Linked DNA regions of Homo sapiens: regions 1 and 3 are each linked to region 2. Evidence: promoter capture Hi-C in human tissues and cell types (Jung and others, 2019). All regions are on one chromosome and are shown on one strand. The core of a region is centred on a gene start or on the middle of the fragment in contact, and the rest is flanking DNA. Distances in the headings are between cores, read along the strand shown.

Region 1 (4,426 bases), core at 1,717-4,216, 570 kb before region 2:
CCCAGCTACTTTCTAAATTTTTTGTAGAGACAGGTCTCCCTATGTTGTCCAGGCTGGTCTCAAACTCTTGGGCTCAAGCAATCTTCCCGCCTCTGCCTCCCAAATTGCTAGAATTACAGGCATGAGCCAGCATGCCCAGTTTGTGTACAAGTTTTTGTTTGAACACTTGTTTTCAGTCTTCTTGGGTATAAAGCTATTACAGATGTTCCTTGACTTACAATGGGATTATATCCCAATAAACCCACCATACGCAGAAAATAGTGTAAGTTAAAAATGCATTATAACCCATCAGCCCATTGTAAAGTCAAAAAATTGTAAGTCAAACCATCCTAAGTCAGAAAGCATCTGTAGTGGAATTGGTGAGTAATGTGTTCTATGTTTAATTTTTTGACGAAAGGCTAAATTGTTTTCCAATGGACGTGTATTAGTCCATTTTCACACTGCTGATAGAGACATACCCAAGACTGGGCAATTTGCAAAAGAAAGAGGTTTAATGGATTTACAGTTCCATGTGGCTACGGAGGCCTCACAATCATGGTGGAAGGTGAAAGGCACTTCTTACATGGCGGCAGCAAGAAAGAGAATGGGAGAAGCGGAAGTGGAAACCTCTTATCAAACCATCAGATCTTGTGAGACTTATTCACTACCACAAGAACAGTATGCAGGGAATCACCCCCATGATTCAATCATCTCCCACTGGGTCCCTCCCACAATATATGGGAATTATGGGAGTATACTTCAAGATGAAATTTAGGTGGAGTCACAGAGCTAAAACATACCAGGGCATATATCATTTTGTATTTTCATCAGCAATGTATAAGTGCTCCATTGCCCCACATACTCATTAGAACTTGGAACTGTTGATTTTTTGTTTTTTACTTTTAGTCATTTTGATGAGTATCCCATTGTGATTAATTTGCAATTCCCTAATGACTAATGATGTTCAGCATCTTTTCATGTGCTTATTGGCCATTTGTCCATCTTTTGGAGAAATATCTATTCAAGCCCTTTACATATTTTTCATTTTATTTTTGAGACAAGGTCTCACTCTGTCACCTGGGCTGAAGTGCAGTGATGTGATCATAACTCATTACAGCCTCAACCTCCCCAGCTCAAGCTATTCTCCTGTCTCAGCCTCCCGAGTAGCTGGGACTACAGGTGAGTGTCACCATGCCTAGCTAATTTTTGTCATTTTTTTGTAGCGACAGAGTTTTGCCATGTTGCCAGAGCTAGTCTCAAACTCTGAGCTCAAGCGAGCCACTCACCTCAGCCTCCCAAAGCGCTGGGACTACAGGCATGAACCACCACTCCCAGCCCCTTTGCACATTTATAAATTGTGTTCTTTTTGGTTTTGTTTTGTTTTAAATTCGGTTTATCTTTTTGTTGTTGGGTTCCTTTCACAATAAGTTAACTTTTGTCAACTGAAAAATAAAAATAAAATTCTATGCCCCCCAACTGACTGAACAGGCCCTCTCTTGGCCAAGGAGACCCTAGAAAAAACTTGGAAGCTGAGTTCCTACTCATGACAGGATGGGAAGTCGGACACACCTCTTTATAACCCCTCCCTCTATAATCGCCATTAGATTTTCTTTCCTAAGGGTTAAACAGAAACCAGCCCTTTTGAAAGACTCACTCCACCAGCCTGATGCTGACCCTCCCATTTGCAGTTTCAATAGAACAACCGACTAGCATTCCTTCCTGATAAGAGATCACCCACCATCCAGGGAGTGGTTCTGGCCAGTCGACAGAGGACGTGCAGTGAGGGTTTTCACATCCCCTGCTTCACCTTTTGAAGTCAAGCGGTAGAAAACTCTACCCTTGGATCATGCTAAGGCCACCATTTTTTAAACATGGGATCCACAGAGAGGCATGAAGCTCAACTGCACATGCACAAATTGCTCCTTTCATAAATATTCGTGACCCCTCTTACAGTTTATTTAACATGTATATTTGGCCACTGTGTTTAGCATAAATCCCTGTCTTATTCTTCCAACCCTGGAAGTGCCTGTTTTTGGCTTCTGACTGGAAGCTAGGCTTCCCAGTCTGTCAAAATGGCTACCATGCAGGTTCAACTCTTTTTTTTTTTTTTTTTTTTTTTTTTTGAGATGATGTCTTGCTCCCAGACTGGAGTGCAGTGGCACAATCTTGGCTCTCTGCAACCTCTGCCTCCTGGGTAAGCAACTCTTCTGCTTCATCTTCCCAAGTAGCTAGGACTACAGGTGCAGGCCACCACATCCAGCTAACTTTTGTATTTTTAGTAGAGATGGAGTTTCACCATGTTGGCCAGCCTGGCCTCAAACTCCTGACCTCAAGTGATCCACCCGCCTCAGCCTCCCAAAGTGCTGGGATTACAGGCATGAGCCACTGTGCCCGGCCAGGTTCAACCCTTTATGAGAAATAAAGTTCATCTGATTGGGCACAGTGGCTCATGCCTGTAATCCCAGCACTTTAGGAGGGCTAGACAGAAGAATCACTTGAACCCAGATGTTCGAGACCAGCTTAGGCAACATAGTGAGCCCCACTATTTCTATTTTTTTTAAACTAAAGAAAAATATGAAGTAAACAGTGCTAAAATAGTGATGGCAATACAGAAATCAGGAACTAGTGGCATGACATTTTGAGAAAGATATTTAAATAAGCTGGAGAGACTCGGTGTCTCCAGCTTTAAAACAGAAATCAGTCTCTGCCACTTCATAGGTGCTAGAACAAAAGAGACTTGTTCCAAATGAGATGACGCATGTGAAGCGCTTACCCAGTGCTCGGCAAGGGGAAGCACTCTCTAAACGTTAGCAAATACCATGGTAGGACACAAGGCCCCTGACTCTCCGCTTTCAGCTTACTGAAGATCCTCAAAACCAACAGCACACAGCTTCCAGCGCATGCTCCTTTCCCCAAGACCTTGTGGGGGAACCCGCCGCCAGCGCGGAGCCACCGTGACTCGTAGCCTGACTTCCGTTTCCGGGGGCGGCTTCCGGCGGCGTGACCTGACCGCAAGAGGCCAATGGAGTGTGGGAGCTGAAAGGGTCTTCGCTGGCGGCCGGTAACTGGCGGCGGTTGGGAACGGCCGAGTGTGGCTCTTCTGGTGTTTCAGCTTGGGGAGAGAGGGGTGGCCTTCCTCTTGCAGTTGAGGCCGGCGCCGAGCCGGACTTCAGGCGGATCTCGTGGCGGAGCCCATCTTGCTCCCTCTCCCAGGCCTTTACCCGCTCCCTAGGATTCCCGGGCCCTGTAGGTGGGAGTTGGGAGACGTGAGTTCTCTTTCATTCTGCGCCTCTCATTGGCTCTCTGACCTTGTGCGGAACGCGTCCTTTAGCTGACCTCAGCTGCATTTTTTAGAAGATGGAGATTGTATTCACAGTGACTGTCAGCTTTTTAACGGCGGGAACTGACGTAGTGTTAAACACTGTCGTGTATCGCTGGCACAGCACAAGGACATTATAGGTATTCTGTACTCAATTAAGTTATTTTGAGTCACAGACCTTTTGAAAATCTCGTGTAAGCTATGGCCCCTCCACCTCTCTAATACTTCCCCCGGCCCCCACCCCAAGCACACACAAAAGCTTATGCATAGGAAATTTGTTTTACTATTTCGGATTACTTCCAAGATCTCTCTCCTGATGCCCATCTATGGATCCCAGAGTCTGGCAAGTAGTAGGCGTTTGAACATTTGTAATCATTAGATAGTAAGTATTCAGTTAACCATTTTTATTTTTAATTTTTTCTTTTTTTTTTTTTTTTTTTTTGAGACAGGGCCTCACTGTGTCACCCAGGCTGGAGTGCAGTCCTCCCACCTCAGCCTCCCAAGTAGCTGGACTCCAGGCGCCCACCACCACGCCCAGCTATTTTTTGTGTTTTTGGTAGAGATGAGATTTTGCCATCTTACGCAGATTGGTCTCGAACTCTTGGCCTCAAGCAATCTACTCACCTCAGCTCCCTAAAGTGCTGGGATTACAGGCATGAGCCAGTGTGCCCAGCCCAGTTAATCATTTTTAAATGCATGAAATGCTATTTCACAGGAGGGAAGAAGATAGATAGCCTATTAATAAGTTTTAATTATTGGCCTAACCAGGTACTACTCTCACTTGTCTCCTAACGACTCTAGGAAAGAGGTATTACTAATTACTTAATTACATTTGAAGGTTTGGGAGAATTAATTTGCCATAAGTCATTCAACCTATGATGGTGGAGGCAAGAATTCAAACCTGTATCTATCTGAAACTCCAAAAGCCCCATATTATTATTATTATTATTATTTATTTTATTTATTTATTTATTTTTTTGAGACAGAGTCTTGTTCTGTTACCCCAGCCGGAGTGCAGTGGCATGATCTCAGCTCACTGCAATCTCCACCTCCCGGATTCAAGCAATTCTCCTCCCTCAGCCTCCCAAGTAGCTGGGATTACAGGCTCCCACCACCACACCTGGCTAA
Region 2 (4,410 bases), core at 1,911-4,410:
GAGAGCTTCCGGGAAGAATTTCTTCCTATAAGCCAGATTTGGTATGGAAGAAGTCATACCCTAGTCAGTGGGCACAGCACAAAGGCAGAGCAGCTGCAGGAACCTTAGCCGGGAGATATGCATAGTTGATGCTGGGAATTTGGAGATCAGGCCACCAGAGCTTGGTGAATATTGGAACACCTGGCTGGTGCCCTGGATTTGGTTCTGTTTGTATCTTACAGCTATGGGACGATGACTTGGGAGCGCTATGGGCCTGCCCCATGGACAAATGTGAGTATTGTAAGAACTGCCTTTCCTTTCTGTACCAGGAGTGGGGATCTTGACAGGGACCACTCTTGGGCACAGCACATGCAATGGCCTTGTCCTTCCCTGAGATCAGATAAACAGAGGGTCATTCCTTCATTCACTCAAAAAATGATGAGAGCTTGCAGGGATCGCAGGAACACCAAAAATATAAATCCTTGCCCCCGCCCCACCCCTAGAAGACTAGCAAGACATGAGCCAGTCACTTACATTTAAAGTGGGAGCTACTGAAGCACCACCAAGTGTTCAGTGCTGTAAATGCATACAATGTGGACCTGACCTGGGTGGGGTGAGGGGTGAGGGGCTCAGGGGGAAGGTTCCAGCAAAACTCTGAAGACTGAGCTAGGGGAAGGGGGTAGAGATACAGGGTCTTGGACAGGCAGGTTTCTGTCATGAGATAAAGATGCAGGAGACATGTAGGGGATTTGGATCTTATGTTGAGAGCAGCAGGAGCTACGATCAAATTTTTATATATTTCACACACACACACACACATATATATATATATATATATATATATATATATACTTATTTTTTTATTTATTTTTGAGGCAGAGTCTCACTCTGTTGCCCAGGCTGGAGTGCAATGGCGCGATCTCGGCTAACTGCAACCTCTGCCTCCCGGGTTCAAGCAATTCTCTACCTCAGCCTCCCGGGTAGCTGGGATTAATAGGCGCCTGCCACCATGCCCTGCTAATTTTTGTATTTTTAGTAGAGATGGGGTTTCACCATCTTGGCCAGGCTGGTCTTGAACTCCTGACCTCGTGATCCGCCCGCGTCGGCCTCCCAAAGTGCTGGGATTATAGTCGTGAGTCACCGCACCTGGCCCAAATTTATATTTTTAAAAGATCTCTGAGGCTGTCATGAATCAATTCAAGGCAAATCAATTGGAGGTAAAAAAAAAAAAAAAAAGACAGGGCAGGGACACCAGGTAGTTGCAGACACCCAGGACAGCAAGATCAAGGGCCCAGCAACCCTAGCTTAGGGGAGAAAAACAGCTGACATTTTAGCACTTAAGATGCTCGGCATTGTGTTAAGTATGTATTAACACATTGTGTTAAGCTTTATATGTATTAATATATTTAGTCCTCACACCAACCCTATGACACAGGTACAACTTTACAGAGGAGAAAACTGAGGCAGAGGGTGACATTACTTATTCAAAGACCCCTAAACAGATGGAGCTATATTCATCCACTGGCTCTGACACTGTGCTGTGGACTCTGGGCAAATCATTTCTTCGTTTTTTGTTTTGTTTTGTTTTGTTTTGAGAGGAGTCTCACCCTGTCGCCCAGGCTGGAGTGCAATGGCGCGATCTCGGCTCACTGCAACCTCTGCCTCCCGAGTTCAAGCGATTCTCTTGCCTCAGCCTCCCGAGTAGCTGGGATTACAGGCGTGTGCCACCACGCCCGGCTAATTTTTTGTATTTTTAGTAGAGACGGGGTTTCACCGTGTTAGCCAGGATGGTCTTGATGTCCTGACCTCGTGATCTGCCCGCCTCGGCCTCCCGAAGTGCTGGGATTATATAAAGGCATGAGCCACCGCACCCGGCCCAATTCATTTCTGTTAAGTCTCAGTTTTTCTTCTCTGTGGAGGGTAAGTTTCTAACTCTTCTTCTCTGGGTCTCCCAGACATCCACAAGCGCTGGGCCCTCGTGTGGCTGGCCTGCCTACTCTTTGCCGCTGCGCTTTCCCTCATCCTCCTTCTCAAAAAGGATCACGCGAAAGGTGAGCGCTTCCCGGCTCCCCATTCCCCTGGGGGAGGACCAGAGTGGCTGTGGGAGTTCTCCGAGGGAAAGCGGCGGCCGAGCTCACTGGCTGCCTCCGCCCCTCTCCCCTAACAGGGTGGCTGAGGCTCTTGAAACAGGACGTCCGCTCGGGGGGTGAGTGGGAGCAAGCGCTGGGCGGAGGGCCGCCCCCGGGGAGCCAGGCCTGTGCCAGCTCACCTCTTCCCTCCCCATCTGTTTTCTCCGGCAGCGGCCGCCAGGGGCCGCGCGGCTCTGCTCCTCTACTCAGCCGATGACTCGGGTTTCGAGCGCCTGGTGGGCGCCCTGGCGTCGGCCCTGTGCCAGCTGCCGCTGCGCGTGGCCGTAGACCTGTGGAGCCGTCGTGAACTGAGCGCGCAGGGGCCCGTGGCTTGGTTTCACGCGCAGCGGCGCCAGACCCTGCAGGAGGGCGGCGTGGTGGTCTTGCTCTTCTCTCCCGGTGCGGTGGCGCTGTGCAGCGAGTGGCTACAGGATGGGGTGTCCGGGCCCGGGGCGCACGGCCCGCACGACGCCTTCCGCGCCTCGCTCAGCTGCGTGCTGCCCGACTTCTTGCAGGGCCGGGCGCCCGGCAGCTACGTGGGGGCCTGCTTCGACAGGCTGCTCCACCCGGACGCCGTACCCGCCCTTTTCCGCACCGTGCCCGTCTTCACACTGCCCTCCCAACTGCCAGACTTCCTGGGGGCCCTGCAGCAGCCTCGCGCCCCGCGTTCCGGGCGGCTCCAAGAGAGAGCGGAGCAAGTGTCCCGGGCCCTTCAGCCAGCCCTGGATAGCTACTTCCATCCCCCGGGGACTCCCGCGCCGGGACGCGGGGTGGGACCAGGCGCGGGACCTGGGGCGGGGGACGGGACTTAAATAAAGGCAGACGCTGTTTTTCTACCCATGTGGCCCACACGCGTCTCCGTTTCAGTGGCGGGGCTGGCAAACGTCATTCCCTAGCCCCGCGGCCCTTTAAAGCCCGGACAGGTGCAGCTCGGTGCCGCCTCTGGTTGGCTGGCGTGGGGTGACGTAATGGCACATGGCCCGTCGCCATTGGCTGGGCGGCAAGCTCCGCCCCCTGGACTGCGGCGCGGGTGGGGGTTGTGCGTTTTACGCAGGCTGTGGCAGCGACGCGGTGAGGAGACGGCCCACGGCGCCCGCGGGCTGGGGCGGTCGCTTCTTCCTTCTCCGTGGCCTACGAGGGTCTGGATCCTTCTCTGCCGGCTCGTGGGCCGTGCCTTTGCCCTTCTGCGAGGCCCTGAATCTGATCCCTTCCCTTCATATCCGGATCCGGGCTCCTCCCTCCAAGCCCGGGGTTCCGGACACCTCCCCCAAGACAACCCCTCTGGCCTCCTCTCCTTCAGTACTTGGAATCTGATCTCTTCTCCCTAATTCTGCGGATCCGGCCCCTAATATTCTTTATCAGACCCTCAGACAAGAGGCTGACTTCTGCCCCCTTGTCAAGGAGCGAGGCCACTTTCCTCTCCACCCCATGCTAGCGAGGATAACTTATTTCTCTTCTGGAATTGCATCTTATGCGCCTTTCCCCACCCATCCCCACAGCCCCTGCAATACCCAGTTTGGCCTCTTTTGCTTGTAATAACGCAGATCCCAGCGCCACGGCACCTTAGAACAGACCTTTTTCTTTCTCGCGTGGGGCCTGACTCCTTCAGTGAAGCCTCTCCACGCCCTCTATCTGCAGGTCCCCAGCCTGGGTAAAGATGGCCCCATGGCCCCCGAAGGGCCTAGTCCCAGCTATGCTCTGGGGCCTCAGCCTCTTCCTCAACCTCCCAGGACCTATCTGGCTCCAGCCCTCTCCACCTCCCCAGTCTTCTCCCCCGCCTCAGCCCCATCCGTGTCATACCTGCCGGGGACTGGTTGACAGCTTTAACAAGGTGGGTGCACCGGCAGCCTCGTTAGAGGGGAACACAGCGATTTAGAGTGGGGAACTCTGGGATGCAAATCTGCGTGGATTTAAGTTTCATCTTGGTCTCTTACTAGTTGTATGGCCCTAGGCAGGTTGCCTTTCTGTGCCTCAGTTTCCTAGTCAGTAGAACAGTGAAGTGCTAGCATGTGCCAGGCACTGTACTTAGCTATTACTAATTTTCTGTTTCCAGGGCCTGGAGAGAACCATCCGGGACAACTTTGGAGGTGGAAACACTGCCTGGGAGGAAGAGAATTTGTCCAAATACAAAGACAGGTAAGGGGCTGCTGGGGGAAGGGGTGTATATTCCCCTCCCCGCCAAATCTCTGCTCTGCTGGTGTAGGGCTAGGAACTCTTGGGGAGCACTTATTCATTCAACAAATAGCACTGAACATCTATAGTATAGCAGTAAACAAGGCAAGCAAAATGCCCCCTTCCTGGA
Region 3 (4,016 bases), core at 236-2,735, 800 kb after region 2:
GTTTTCTTAATAACGTTTTTTCTCTAGCTTACTTTATTGTAAGAATACGGTAGGTAATACATATAAAATATGTGTTAATCAACTGTTTATGTTATTGGTAAGGCTTCCAGTCAACAGTAGGCTATCCGCAGTTAAATTTTGGAGGAGTCAAAAGTTATGCATGGATTTTTGACTGTGCAAGGGGTTGGTGCTGATGTTGTTTAAGGGTCAACTGTATTTGACCTCTAAGGATACATCATAAAAGGCGATGCAGCTTCCACCTGAGTCTTTTTGGACATTTGCATTTGGAGCTCCAAGCCACTATGTAAGGCAGCTGACTGCTCTGAGGCCACCATGCTGTGAGGAAGCCCAAACTAGCCCACGCAGAGATCACATGGGGAGGTCCCGAGACTACATGAAGACAGAGATGCTCAGGCCGCTGACTCACTGCAACCTAGGGGAGACGCCAAACAAGAACCATCTAGCTGAGCCCTCTTTGATTTCCTGACCCACAGAAACCATGAGAGAGAATAACATAGTTGTTATTTTAAGCCACTAAATTTTAGGGTGATTTATTTTGCAGTAATAGGTAACCAGAACACTTGTCATGCCTGTTTTCACCTCCACACCTTTTCTCACCCAGTCCTTCCTGCCTGAGGAAGGGAAAGAGGATTCTTTCCTTCCTTTCCTCCTTTTGGTAACCTCCTCTTCACTGGGATGGGGGTGTGGGCAAGGGAGACCTCAGTGGAGCTGGCATTTGCCTCCAACCCTGAAACTTGCCTGGAGCTGGGCCCACTAACAACACGTGGGAGAGTACAGGGGCTGAGTCTCTGGAGCCAAGGGCTGAGCTAGCAGTGTGTGGGAAGACAGAAAGAGAGGCCTTGGCTCAAGAAAAAAGCTGAAGCTCAGTTCTCAGAAGGGACCCCATGATCAGTGTGAATGCAGCAAGATGGTCAACTTGAGGGTCTGTCCTCTCCCGGTGACAGGAACTATGGGGCGGTGATGATCATGGTGATGCTGATCTGTCCATTGCTGCATTGTGTTTAGCATTTTATATAGTCTCATTTAAGCCTCACAGTAACCTTTTGAGTTAGGTACTATGACTATTCCCGTGTTATAAATGAGGAAACAGAGGCCCAGAAAGAGGAGCAACTTGCCCAAATTCTCACAGTTAGGGGCAGACACGAGATTCGAACTCAGGCTTGTCAGAATCCAGACTCTCAGTCCCAGAAACAAAAGCAGGTGGGAGAGGGTGGGTTAAGAGATTCCAGGCATGAGCCTCGGGAGGCTTCTGCAGCAGAGAATTCCAAATGTGCCTTGATTTGCATTATCACTGTTTTGGTTTGCAAGAAGGAGAAGCTGATCTCCTCCTTGATAAAAATGGAAAAGAACAAGGTAAGAATATGTGCACTCCTAGCTATCAAGATATAAACTTGCAGTAACTAAGACAGTGTGATTATCTTAGTCCATTTAGGCTGTTATAACAAAAATACCATAGATTGGGCAGCTTAAACAACAAACATTTATTTTTCACAATTCTGGAGGCTGGGGAGTCCAAAATACGGCACTAGCAGATTCAGTGTCTGGTGGAGGCCAACATTCAGATTCACAGACAATGTCTTCTCGCTGTTAGGCCTCTGAGCCCAAGCTAAGCCATCATATCCCCTGTGACCTGCACGTACACATCCAGATGGCCGGTTCCTGCCTTAACTGATGACATTCCACCACAAAAGAAGTGAAAATGGCCTGTTCCTGCCTTAACTGATGACATTACCTTGTGAAATTCCTTCTCCTGGCTCATCCTGGCTCAAAAGCTCCCCCGCTGAGCACCTTGTGACCCCCAGCCCTGCTCGCCAGAGAACAATCCCCCTTTGACCGTAATTTTCCTTTACCTACCCAAATCTTATAAAATGGCCCCGCCCCTATCTCCCTTCGCTGACTCTTTTCGGACTCAACCCGCCTGCACCCAGGTGAAATAAACAGCCTTGTTGCTCACACAAAGCCTGTTTGGTGGTCTCTTCACACAGACGTGAGTGAAACTCGCTGTGTACTCCCACAGCAGAAAGTGTGAGAAAGCTCTCTGGGGCCTCTCTTATAAGGGTACCATTCAGGAGGGCACCACCCTCATGACCTAATTACCCCCCAAAGGCTACACATCCTAATATCATCACACTGGGGGATGGGATTTAAATGTGTAAATTTTGGGGGGACACAAGCATTCAGCCCACAATAGTGATATTAAAACAAAGATGGGCAAAAATGCCAGTGGAATGAAACAGAGCTCAATAAATAGAGCTGGATCAACTGAATAATTACACAGTGAAAAAATGAGCCCAGACCCCTACCTCACTCCACATGCAAAAAATTATGGTAGATGGACTTTAGATCTAAATGTGAAAAATAAGAGAAAGCAGTTGTTACTCAAAATAGCCCCAAACTGGTAACAACCCAAATTTTCATCAACAGTAGAACAGATCAATAAATTGTATACTCACACAGCAATAACAAAGGGCAGATTATTACTGCATGCAACAACGTGAATGTATTTCACAATTATAATGTTGAATGAAAGAGGTCAGATACAAAAAGACATACTGTATGATTCTATTTCTATAAAGTTCAAACAGGCAAACCTAACTGATGTTGTTAGATGTTAGGATATGGTTATTTTTTGGGAAGAAGGTAGTGGTAATGAATAGCAGGGGCACAAAGGGAGGTTTCTAGGTTGCTGGCAAGGCTTTAATTATTGAACTTAGTGGTAGTCACAGAGGTATGTTCACTGTGATAATTCATCAAGTAATTCACTTATCATTTGTGCACTTTTCTATATGTGTATTGCAATAAAATAATTTATTTTAAAGAGTAACAGATGACAAATTATCCACAACAAATTGATAAAGGATAATAGCTTTAAAGAGCAGATAAAAATAAGTAAGAAACACTAAGACATCCTCACTAGAAAAATGAGCAAAGGCTATGTGAACAAAAGAGGCATTATAAATGGCTTGTATATACTTGAAAAAAAAATTTAAAACTTGATAGTAGTGAAACATGTTAGAAATTTAAAGCAATGAGAAACCAGTTTTACCAAGCAAATTGATAAAGATTTAATAACAAATAATAGGAACTTTTTCTTTTGGCCACAGTGGAGTAACAGTGACCAGCTTCTTTCTCTCTCTCTCTCTCGCTCTCTCTTACACACACACACACACACACACACACACCCCCCCACCCACACACACATCACCTTAAAAAAGAAAAACAGACAAAATTATATAAAACAATGGTTTCCAGTTATTGGACAACAGGAGCACAGTACAGTGATCTCTGAGTGGAGAGAAACCAAGGAAGACAGCTCTGTGATCACCCATCTTACTTTGTTTGTGTTGAAAGTTCTTTTCAGGCCACAGAACAGGGAGAGGGAGCCCAAAGAGAGACTGGTAGTCTTTTTGAGTTGAGGAGGGAGAATTAAGAATTCATGGAGGCTAGACTTATCAGGCCAAAGTATCAGACAGTAGAATGCTACAGAGTGCTGAAGAGCTATCAAAAGTTCCCTTCAAATCTTAAGCTGAGTATGAATCAGCACATGCATGTGCAGAAACTACCCAAGGCTTTGGAAGGAACCACTGAAAAGGAGTGGAGAGAACAATTACCATAACCCACACAGAGCCTATAATGGTTTTTGTTCACACCAGCCAGAGTGGGAAGACTTCTAACACACACAGCATTAATTAGACTGCTCAGAAGGCTTTTTCCTCATTAGTGGGGCCAAATTAGATCTAGACTAAAAGATGTTCTGTTCCCACATAACAAAGCTTAAAAGCAAGCCTCAAAAAGTACCAAGCTGTTCTCTAGTAATTTAATTGCAGCTCAGAACAAAGTTCAAAAATATTTAAAGAACATCAACAAAATCTAACACCCAATATAAAATTGACAATACATTTAAAAAAAAATTACCAGGCATGTAAAGAAACAGGAAAATGTGACCCATAATGAGCACAAAACTCATTCAATTGAAATGGTTCCAGAAATGACAC

Evidence for each region. Contacts are between HindIII fragments. The study calls those that stand out against the background at their distance.
Region 1: a contact is called between the fragment with the promoter of THUMPD3 here and the fragment with the promoter of CRELD1 in region 2, in 2 of the 25 tissues and cell types used here (hippocampus and spleen).
Region 3: a fragment that was not itself captured here is called in contact with the fragment with the promoter of CRELD1 in region 2 in 1 of the 25 tissues and cell types used here (dorsolateral prefrontal cortex).

What each region holds. Positions count from the first base shown.
Region 1 is chr3:9,360,088-9,364,513 of GRCh38, forward strand. THUMPD3 (THUMP domain 3 tRNA guanosine methyltransferase) reads left to right here and starts at 2,967. Exons shown (of 10, transcript NM_001114092.2): 1 at 2,967-3,040. It also overlaps a transcript of SRGAP3 not described here. RefSeq lists enhancers at 2,697-2,906, 3,127-3,186, 3,257-3,336, 3,357-3,416. The HindIII fragment of the contact is 11,864 bases long and covers 1-4,426 here.
Region 2 is chr3:9,930,674-9,935,083 of GRCh38, forward strand. CRELD1 (CRELD disulfide isomerase 1) reads left to right here and starts at 3,161. Exons shown (of 11, transcript NM_001077415.3): 1 at 3,161-3,247; 2 at 3,747-3,939; 3 at 4,162-4,244. The coding sequence starts at 3,766. It overlaps IL17RC (interleukin 17 receptor C), which reads left to right. Exons shown (of 19, transcript NM_153460.4): 16 at 222-270; 17 at 1,935-2,030; 18 at 2,147-2,185; 19 at 2,280-2,948. The coding sequence ends at 2,920. RefSeq lists silencers at 2,133-2,192, 2,773-3,102 and an enhancer at 3,203-3,572. The HindIII fragment of the contact is 22,722 bases long and covers 1-4,410 here.
Region 3 is chr3:10,728,871-10,732,886 of GRCh38, forward strand. No RefSeq gene overlaps it. Among named protein-coding and RNA genes, the nearest start is that of LINC00606, 33 kb to the right of the region's middle. The HindIII fragment of the contact is 5,529 bases long and covers 1-4,016 here.